Regions from separate parts of the Homo sapiens genome. Here region 2 is linked to region 1. The links are contacts of gene promoters, found by promoter capture Hi-C in human tissues and cell types (Jung and others, 2019). All regions are on one chromosome and are shown on one strand. Each heading gives the region's core, a stretch centred on a gene start or on the middle of the fragment in contact. The rest is flanking DNA. Distances are from core to core; before and after follow the strand shown.

The links. Contacts are between HindIII fragments. The study calls those that stand out against the background at their distance.
Region 2: a contact is called between a fragment that was not itself captured here and the fragment with the promoter of FLRT2 in region 1, in 1 of the 25 tissues and cell types used here (hippocampus).

Annotation. Positions count from the first base shown.
Region 1 is chr14:85,527,124-85,532,383 of GRCh38, reverse strand. FLRT2 (fibronectin leucine rich transmembrane protein 2) reads right to left here and starts at 2,240. Exons shown (of 2, transcript NM_013231.6): 1 at 1,850-2,240. FLRT2-AS1 (FLRT2 antisense RNA 1) reads left to right here and starts at 725. Exons shown (of 2, transcript NR_184170.1): 1 at 725-3,767. The HindIII fragment of the contact is 3,489 bases long and covers 306-3,794 here.
Region 2 is chr14:84,497,604-84,502,713 of GRCh38, reverse strand. No RefSeq gene overlaps it. Among named protein-coding and RNA genes, the nearest start is that of LINC02305, 580 kb to the right of the region's middle. The HindIII fragment of the contact is 5,685 bases long and covers 1-5,110 here.

The DNA of each region.
Region 1 (5,260 bases), core at 991-3,490:
CTTATTTCGTGCTGCTCTTCCTGCCTCCAGTAAGTTGCTGTCATGTTGTAACAAGTCCGGTGAGGCTGAATCTGAACAGAAGAGGGAGAACGAGCCCGCGCCAAGAGCTACGCCGAGACGCGCCGTCGGTGGGGCCACGCGAGATGCAACCGGAGAGTTTAAAACTAGCCCAGGACCAACCCCCCAGGGATCCGCTCAACTCTCCCCGCAGAAGAGTTTAAGTGGGGCAGTGGCCGCCACAGGCTGAGGATGATTTCCGGACGCGCCCCAGGCGCGACCGCACTACTCGTCCTCAGTTCAAAGCCTGAGTGACTTGGCACCACTTCCCCAATTGTTTTTTATTTCCTTCGCATCCCTGTTGTGTCTACCGCTTTCACGTATTTGAGAGCCTAAATCATGTTAAGACGACTTGGAGAAACGCCCGATTTGCCTCCCAAGCCACGCAAGGATCCACCCAGACGCACGCCCGCGCGGAGACGCACGCTGGCACACGCGCTCACACACGCGAGCACACACACGCGCACACTACCCGGTTCGTGCGCGCGGGTCGCTGTTCCTGTTGCATTATGCAAAGGTGGCTGGGAAAGCGCGTTGACTTACATTTACATAGCCCATCTTCTCCCCACAGTATGTGACTAATACGTATCCCGGGGAGGAGGGAGCGCGGCTGGGGGTGCTAATCGGAAGGGAACAGACAGTGAGTGCCATCTTGCTGGGAGGTTCCAGAAGCAAAGCGCCAACGACGACAGTAGCGGTGGCCTCAGCTCCACCAGTAACTGCCGCTGGCAGGAGCACCACACGCTCTAGGAGTTTCCCGGGTATCAAGTATGGGTCCAGCCCGTCCCAGTTATCCTCTTCCCCTATGGCTTCATTCCCGTTGTCAGTACCCCGACCTCAGCTTGCAACCTTGATCTTGGGCTTGATTATAAATGACGAAAGACCGCGGCAGCCTTCAAAGTGCGGGAGCGAGCCCCGTACTGGTCAGCGCGGCGGAGGGATCTTTCCAGGAGGCCCCAAGCCCCCAAGCCTGTGGAGAGACTTGGTAACAGCTGGCAAGGCCTGCTCCAGCCACCCTCGCTGGCTCCTTGCCCCTGCATTCAGCGCCTGAGGGCGTTATTCGCCCTCTCCCTGCGTCCCACGCAAGCGGCTCAAGGAACTCACTCGATCCGGATTCCGCCTCGTATGCTCTCCAAGCCTTCGCCACCTCCGCAGGCGCTCTAGAAAGGCGTGATGGCCCCAGCTCAGTGCCCGCCAGCCCGAAGAGGACAAGCAGGGCTGGAAGGGACTTGGTTTTGGAAAAAGCCCCACCCGCCCCCACCAACTGGAAGGAAAAGGAATTAGTATCCACCGCATCTGTTTAACTGCTAATAGATCCCAGATTACGGGCAGGTAGTAGGTTGGTGTCTTTAGATACAACAGCCTGATAATAACGCTGGTGACATTAACAACAGCTTGTGGAGGGGAGAGGGTTGTTACTGGTGAAAGTTAAGAGATTCAATCTAGGGAAGTAGGAGACTGAACTCTGACAAGGTTAGGGGCACTGAGAACCCCAATTTAGCATCGATGCATCTACCAGGCAAGAAAATTTGCGTTTTGACCCAGAACTCAGTCATGATGCTCCGTAGAGGAGGTGGATTCGACCAGCAGACAGATGTCCCCAAAGTCGAGAGAGAGCTAAGCTGCCTATTTTCTCTCCAGGTGAAAGACAAAGCCTAGAGCACCCCACTTAAGATGACCACCCCCAGCTCTTTCAAAAAAAAAAAATCCCCCGAAGAGACAGCGTGGTGCCAGCGTAGCAGCAGCTCGGCCGGTTACTGGAAACTTCACCTGGCAACGCAGCCCCTTTTACCTGACGGCTGCGTCTTCTCCTTGCAATGGGCTCATCCGAATCCGACAGGGTCAGGGAGGTGGAAAGGGAAGACGCTGGCGCGGCAGCAGCGGGGATCCCGGGGCATGGTATTGTTTTAGGGGTCGCCGCCGAGGTCCCTCCTGCCCATCGTTGAGAACTGCCACCCTGATCCCAGGGCTCGGTGGACACGGCGGCGGGAGCGGAGATGCCGCCTCGCCGCTGCTGGGCACCAGGGACGGAGGACCAGAGGCGCACCTCGGAAAGGAGTAGCTCAGCGCCTTGGCGCGGAGATTTGCGGGCACTGATGATATCTCGAGCGCTCGTTCCTCCGCGGTGACAATGGATAATGCCAAACGCGCAAGTGACGGCGACAGGTTTCGAACGTACAACTAACTACAAGGTACCCAGCCTGAGACAGTATGCTGCTTTTCCCCTCCTCCTCCTCTCCCTCCTACCAGGGAGGGAACTAACTTAACCCTGTGTGCGCCTGACACTCCCTAGAGAAGCTGGGATCGACTAGGAAACCGCAGGCAGCGGCTCCCGGGGGCGAGAGCTTTGTTCACGTGCGTTTCCAGTGGGTGTGTTGCTGTCTAGGGGCACTCGCGTGGCAAGACGCCCGTGGCTGGCTTCCAGCGCCCAAGATTCAAGGAAGGGAAGGAGCCCTAGCGTTTCATCCGGACCAGACCCAGCCCTCGGAGTCTATTTTTTGCCTCCAGTTACCGGATTTATTGAAGTTGCCAGCGAAGTTGGTTTTATTCCTTTACTTCTCTGCTCTCCGCCCCCGTCCACATCCCCCAACCCTGTATTATTTCCTGTCCTAGCTGCGCTTTAAAGATTCGGAACTTTTCACTCGTTCTAGCTACAGATTTTAACTGTGTTCCGTGTGCGAGACGAATTGTGGAGGGCACCCACCCACCCATGCCAAGTGTAAATGAAACCGCAAGAAAAGCTGCCTCCCACTCACCCATCCAGTGTCCGAGTAAGCCTAATGACACACATTCACATAACTAAGAAGACACGGGAAGATAGGGGTGCGGAGGACGGAGTTTGATGTGTGAATGGGAAATGGAGAGAGGGGACAGCGCGCGCGAGAGAAACAGCGCGAGCCTGAGCCTTAGAATGGAATAAACGGGAAACACACACAAGAATGACGATGCAAAAAATGTATCTAAGTCCCAACATTGACAGCAGAGGGTCAGCTTTAAGCGCCTACATTTTGATCCGCGAAATTTCCCAGCTTTTTTGGAGGCGGTTACATAGAGAACACAGGAGCCTCTGCCTTGGCCGCCCAGATGCTTTGCATTTTGTAAACAGCTTTGACTAAGTGCTCTGGACTTCCAAGAAGTTAACTGGAGTGGAAGGCGAGTCATATTGTGGATGCGGAATGGAAGCTTAGACAAGAAAAAACTGTCAGCAGAGCGCCTCTGCTCTCACCGTCACACCCAAATGAGCCAGGACGTCGCTCAGAGCGCAAACTGAGATCCACACAGGGACATCTTCAACCGAATCTTTCTTCTGTCTCCATTCCGGACTAAGGAAAGAAAGAAAGAAATACGGAGCCTTTATAGAGTATTCAGAGGCTACACACATGGATCTTGCTGAAACGGAGTTATTTAAAAACAGAGAAAGTGTGTTTTCCCATGAGATAGATGTTATAGTTTCTCTCTGAAACATACCCAAGTCTATGGGTGTCAATAATAGCCATTTCAAATGCCTCTCTGAGCCTTGCCAGCCCCAGAAGAGGCTGTGGGAATGCTGCTTCCAGCTTCCCCTGTGCAGAACTCCGTTGTAAATCCTTCTGAGTTTCCAAGGTGGCAGCAGAGCATAGGGATAGCTCCTCAAGCTCCAGCATCAACAAGGAAGATCACATTTTAGGACAAATACTCATCTACCTGCATTTAAACATCCATTTTCGTATGTAAGTGTACATAAGTATCCGCAGGAGGTTCTTCCTTTGAAATCTTGATCCAGGAAAGCAGCATAATTATTTCATCTTTAAGAACACATTTTAAAAAGGCAAAGCAGGATCTTTAAAGCAACAAAGGTTTTGCTTTCTGATTTATGCTGCTAGAAAATGAATGAGATTGAAAATGGGGGAGGGGGTGGTTGCAGATTTACAGAATTCATACTTTAAATTATTGGTGTTTCTAAACCATGAGCAAACCATGTTATGAGTATGTGCCACCTATTAAAAGCTATTGGTTGCATCTATTGTAATCACGACAAGGAAAATTAAGTAAGAAAAAATATCACGCCAAAGTACAAGCAGAATCGTTGTAACAAATTTCTTATGCACATGACCTATGAGTCAGCTTTAGAAATGTGTGATGATGGGGCCAGAGGAAGCAAACGAATAGGAAATGTGGCTCAGGGACTCCAAAGAGCAATAATTTTGCAGACTTAGAAAACTATAACAATTAGGTTACTTTATTTTTATTAGGAAACTCACTGATCCATAAGAGAAGTGGGTGAAAGAAAAACAAAAAGCAAATCTGCAAGCTTCAAAAAACAGAGGGTCAGCCCACTATTCTTAAGACTTCAGTCCTCAATAGTTTTCCTTTCAATTGAAATTGATTGTCATCTCAAACACTTTAATCCCCCACCCGCGTGTTTCTTACATCATTCCCCATCTATACACACATAGGTACCTTGGCCTTTCTTTTCTAATACTTTGTGAAAGTAAAAATAACACAGTATAATAAGATCATGATTTGAGCTCAGTTTTGATCTTGGGTAAATTCAACTCTGAGGTGCCTCTTCATTTTTAAAATGGACATTAAAAAAATCCCTGTTCTGCCAGCCTTATAACATTGTCCCACCATGAGTCAGCATATGTGAAAGTGCTTTAGAAATTTGACTTGTTGTTACTACTACTGATATTATCATTACATCACACCGTATCAGCCTTCAAAATATTGACAAATTATATTAGTGTAAACATTGTCAGTCTCCCCTGATGTTATCATCTTATATTACCTTAGAACATTTATCAAAACTAAGAAACCAGCTACATTGCTATTAACTAAACCTTAAACTTTACTCATATTTCATCAGTTTTTCCACTAAGTCTTTTTCCTGTTTCAGGATCTCATCTAGGATACCACAATGACTTTAAATATCCTGTCTCCTGTATTCTGTATAGTTCTTCAGTCTTTTCTTGTTTCGTATGATCCTGTAAGTTTTGAGAAGTGATAGTCAGGTATTTTGTAGACTATCTACCACTTTTGGTTCATCTGAAGTTTTCTCATGATTAGATTCTAGCTATAGTTCTTGGTAAAAAGCATCAGAGGTGGAATGCCTTACTGATCACATCATGTCAGCTGGCACATGATATCAGCATGATGCCACTGATGACATTAACATTCTCCAAGATATTTCATACCAGGGTTCTCTACTGTAAAGTTATTTGCC
Region 2 (5,110 bases), core at 1,347-3,846, 1.0 Mb after region 1:
TCTGTTCTGGATCTCAAACATGCTTTCTTTACTATTCCTTTGCACTCGTCATCCCAGCCTGTCTTCGCATTCACTTGGACTGACCCTGACACCCATTAGGCTCAGAAAATCACCTGGGCTGTACTGCCGCAAGGCTTCACAGATGGCCCCCATTACTTCAGTCAAGCCCAAATTTCATCCTCATCTGTTACCTATCTCGGCATAATTCTCATAAAAACACACCTGCTTTCCCTGCTGATCATGTCCAATTAATCTCCCAAACCTCAATCCCTTACAAAACAACAACTCCTTTCCTTCCTAGGCATGGTTAGCACGGTCAGAATTCTTACACAAGAGCCAGGACCGCACCCTGTAGCTTTTCTGTGCAAACAACTTGACCTTACTGTTTTAGCCTAGCCATCATGTCTCCATGCAGTGGCTGCTGCCGCCCTAATACTTTTAGAGGCCCTCAAAATCACAAACTATGCTCAACTTACTCTCTACATTTCTCATAACTTCCAAAATCTATTTTCTTCCTCATACCTGACGCAAATACTTTCTGCTCCCCGGATACTTCAGCTGTAGTCACTCTTTGTTAAGTCCCACAATTACCATTGTTCCTGGCCGGGACTTCAATCCGGCCTCCCACATTATTCCTGATACCACACCTGACCCCCATGACTGTCTCTCTCTGATCCACCTGACATTCATCCCATTTCCCCATATTTCCTTCTTTCCTATTCCTCACCCTGATCACGCTTGATTTATTGATGGCGGTTCCACCAGGCCTAATCGCCACACACCAGCAAAGGCAGGCTATGCTATAGTACAAGGCACTAGCCCACCTCTTAGAACCTCTCATTTCCTTTCCATCATGGAAATCTATCCCCAAGGAAATAACTTCTCAGTGTTCCATCTGCTATTCTACTACTCCTCAGGGCTTATTCAGGCCCCCTCCCTTCCCTACACATCAAGCTGAAGGATTTGCCCCCACCCAGGACTGGCAAATTAGCTTTACTCAACATGCCCCGAGTCAGATAACTAAAATACCTCTTAGTCTAGGTAGACATTTTCACTGGATAGGTACAGACCTTTCCTACAGGGTCTGAGAAGGCCACTGCAGTCATTTCTTCCCTTCTGTCAGACATAATTCCTCAGTTTAGCCTTCCCACCTCTATACAGTCTGATAACAGACCAGCCTTTATTAGTCAAATCAGCCAAGCAGTTTTTCAGGCTCTTAGTATTCAGTGAAACCTTTATATCCCTTACGGTCCTCCATCTTCAGGAAAAGTAGAACGGACTAAAGGTCTTTTAAAAACACACCTCACCAAGCTCAGCCACCAACTTAAAAAGGACTGGACAATACTTTTAAGACTTTCCCTTCTCAGAAGTCAGACATGTCCTCAGAATGCTACAAGGTACAGCCCATTTGAGCTCCTGTATAGACGCTCCTTTTTATTAGGCCCCAGTCTCATTCCAGACACCAGACCAACTTAGACTGTGCCCCAAAAAAACTTGTCATCCCTACTATCTTCTGTCTAGTCATACTCCTATTCAACGTTCTCAACTACTCATACATGCCCTGCTCTTGTTTACACTGCCGGTTTACACTGTTTCTCCAAGTCATCACAGCTGATATCTCCTGGTGCTATCGCCAAACTGCCACTCTGAAGTAAATAAATAATCTTTGCTGGCAGGACTATGCTGAATCTCCTTAGGCACTCTCTATCAGATGTCCTGAGTCATCCCAATTCTTAGACCTTTTATACCTGTTTTTCTCCTTCTCTTATTCCATTTAGTTTTTCAATTCATACAAAACCATATCCAGGCCATCACCAATAGTTCTACACGACAAATGTTTCTTCTAACAACTCCACAATATCACCCCTTACCACAAAATCTTCTTTCAGCTTAATCTCTCCCACTCTAGGTTCCCACGTCACCCCTAATCCCGCTCGAAGCAGCCCTGAGAAACATCGCCCATTATCTCTCCATACCACCCCCAAAATTTTCGCCATCCCAACCCTTTACCACTATTTCATCTTATTTTTCTTATTAATATAAGAAGACAGGAATGTCAGGCATCTGAGCCCAAGCTAAGCCATCATATCCCCTGTGACCTGCACGTACACATCCAGATGGCCGGTTCCTGCCTTAACTGATGACATTCCACCACAAAAGAAGTGAAAATGGCCTGTTCCTGCCCTAACTGATGACATTGTCTTGTGAAATTCCTTCTCCTGGCTCATCCTGGCTCAAAAGCTCCCCTACTGAGCACCTTGTGACCCCCACTCCTGCCTGCCAGAGAACAACCCCCCTTTGACTGTAATTTTCCTTTACCTACACAAATCTTATAAAATGGCCCCACCCCTATCTCTCTTCACTGACTCTCTTTTCAGACTCAGCCTGCCTGCACCCAGGTGATTAAAAGCTTTATTGCTCACACAAAGTCTGTTGGGTGGTCTCTTTACACGGACGCGCATGAAAGTTACCACTATGAACAGAATATAAACCATTAGCTGGTTTATTTCTAATCTACACAAGAATATTGTGAGGCAAAACTCTATGAATGCTATATACCTTTTCAATACAATTGCCCTAGTATCACCCGCTTAATTTCATAATTACTTTTCACGTATATTGAAGCTGATTAGTCCATATGTGGTTTTAGCCCAGATTTTTGTAACATTATTAGCCTATGTAAATCTTATATGAATCACACTTAAAAGTAGCAAATAAAAAGTGAAGTTACAAGAGGTTTGGTTTGGTTTGCTTTTCTTTGTATATAGTTGTATGCATGTGTGTAAATAACCGTTTTATTGTTTTGAGACTTTAAAGTGTTCACTTACATTTCATAAAAAATATCAAAAATTAGGAAAGTTCTCCTGAATATTTTATTTTAATCAAGAAAGCTTAAGTATGTCAGAAAGTAGACATTTAAGAAAAATTACGAATTCATTGGGGTTTAGTTTTAAATTATGTAAGTGTAACTTGTCATATTGAGCTGTTAATTGTATATTAACTTTTTTATTTGCAAACTTTTACATTTTACCCTCTTTACTCAAGTAGAATTACTTGCTATAAAGTTACTGAATAAACATTTAAGATGCCAACTTTGTCAGTTTTTCCTAATTGACATTAAGTGCCATGTCTTGGTAGTGCTTGAAACACTCACAACCCAGAGCTTAATGATTCTAGTATAGCAGCAACTCTAGGAATATGTGAATGGTTTTGTTGATTGACCCAGGAATTAATCCTCTTCTATTTTTCACAAAGGAAGTAGATTCAGTAGGATAGGAAATGACCATGAAAAGTCACAACAGCACAAGGAAAGGAACTGAGGCTAGAAAATGTCACATTACAGCTCCAACACCTCTCTATATATATATCCTCTATCCCTTATCTGACTTGGAGAAATGTCTAGAAGGTTGTAATAGCTCAGATGAATCTTTGACTGGTAAGATGTAGCCAGGAGAAGAAAATGGAGATGCGGCCCAGTAAGAGGAAGACGAGTAAAGTGATGTAGATGTGGGTTTCTACATAGACCAAGTTGCTTATTGTTGGAAAATACATAAGAAGGAGGAGTAATGCAAGTTAGGGGTGGTGAGGCTATCCAGGATATTCCTTATAATGTTAAGGAGAAGCATTCATCTCTCTACATTCCTCTCCCACACTCCTGTAAGACCTAGCCTCCTCTCCCCTCTCTAGAGATTGTGTTGGTTTTACATTCTAAACATTTCTCATATTTATTTCTTGTTCTCAAGTCTCGGACCATTGCTTTTGGTCAAAGCATATTAGATTATATTAGATCACATGACCATATATCCTCATAGTACCTTCCTCTTCCTTGTGCCGTATCCATCATTTCTTATTAGAATCCCTCGTCAGCTTCACCAAGTCCTCCAACAGCCCAGCTAGGTCTGTCTTGCCCACCGAAATATCCCTTTTGGCAAGTACTGTTCCTTACACAGAGTGAATGATGAATAAAAATTGATGGAGTGAATGAAATCCTTATCTAAACCTTTGCAATAGTCTCCCATCTGTTCTCTTTGACTTCAATTCATCTCCTGTTTCTTCCATCCACCATCCTACAACAACAGCACACAGGAAAAAGACTCCTACCTTATAAATAAATATCTTATATTCAGACAGAAATTTGAATGTTTATTCACAAATATTTACTTAAGAAAGATTTCTGAGTAGACTCACACATAGATGTCTGAAATGGGTGCTAAATTTTTAGGCTCTTTCAAAGAGTTATAGTTCTAATTTCTATATTTCTCTTTGTAAGGAAATTTTGAAGCATGCCTCCAAAATTTTGAACTAAGTTTGTCCCTAAGAGTATTTTATTTTCTTTTTATGACTTGCGGTAATTTGAATTAAGGAAATGACACCTAGATATTGATTGCCCTCTTAAATGTACTTAATTTTCAAAGATATCTAGTGATAATAATTTTTTTTCTTTTCTTTAGCTTGAAGGGAAAAAGCACATACACATTCCTTGTGTCTCTGAAAAGACAAATGTCAACAAATAGATTCCCTAATGAAAACAAAAGGATCTATTTCTCCTCTAGCATATTTATCCAGGGGTAATGCATTGGAAAGATATGACTCAGGGGATCCTGCAACAAGTACATTTTGAATTATAATCCTGACCATGTCACTGACTTAAATATGGGTCTCATTTCTCATGTGCCTTAATCTCTATGGTTGTGAAATTAGGATAATAATTTCCTCCTCACACACTCAGTACTTCAAAAGCTTAATGAAAAATCAAAGAGGACACTTATAATTGTACAAAGTGTCAGGACAGAAAAACAGTCTACACAATGAAGAAAGTTGCAGGGTCCTGATAAGGATTTCATTGAGACAAAGCAGCCCCAAAGACCAAACATTCATCATGGTGTGCTGTGTGCAATGGCTATGGTAGGCGGATGGATGAGAAGTAAATGAGCCATCACCTCCCCATTTTCATCTAAAAGAGGCTCATTGCTTAGTTGACCAAATGGACATACACAGATTCTTCCTTTATTCAAGGAACATTTGTAGAGTATGTCCTATGTGCCAGATACTGTTCTAGCCACTGGGGATGTGGCACTGAGACAAAACAGAAACAAGTAATCTCTGCTGT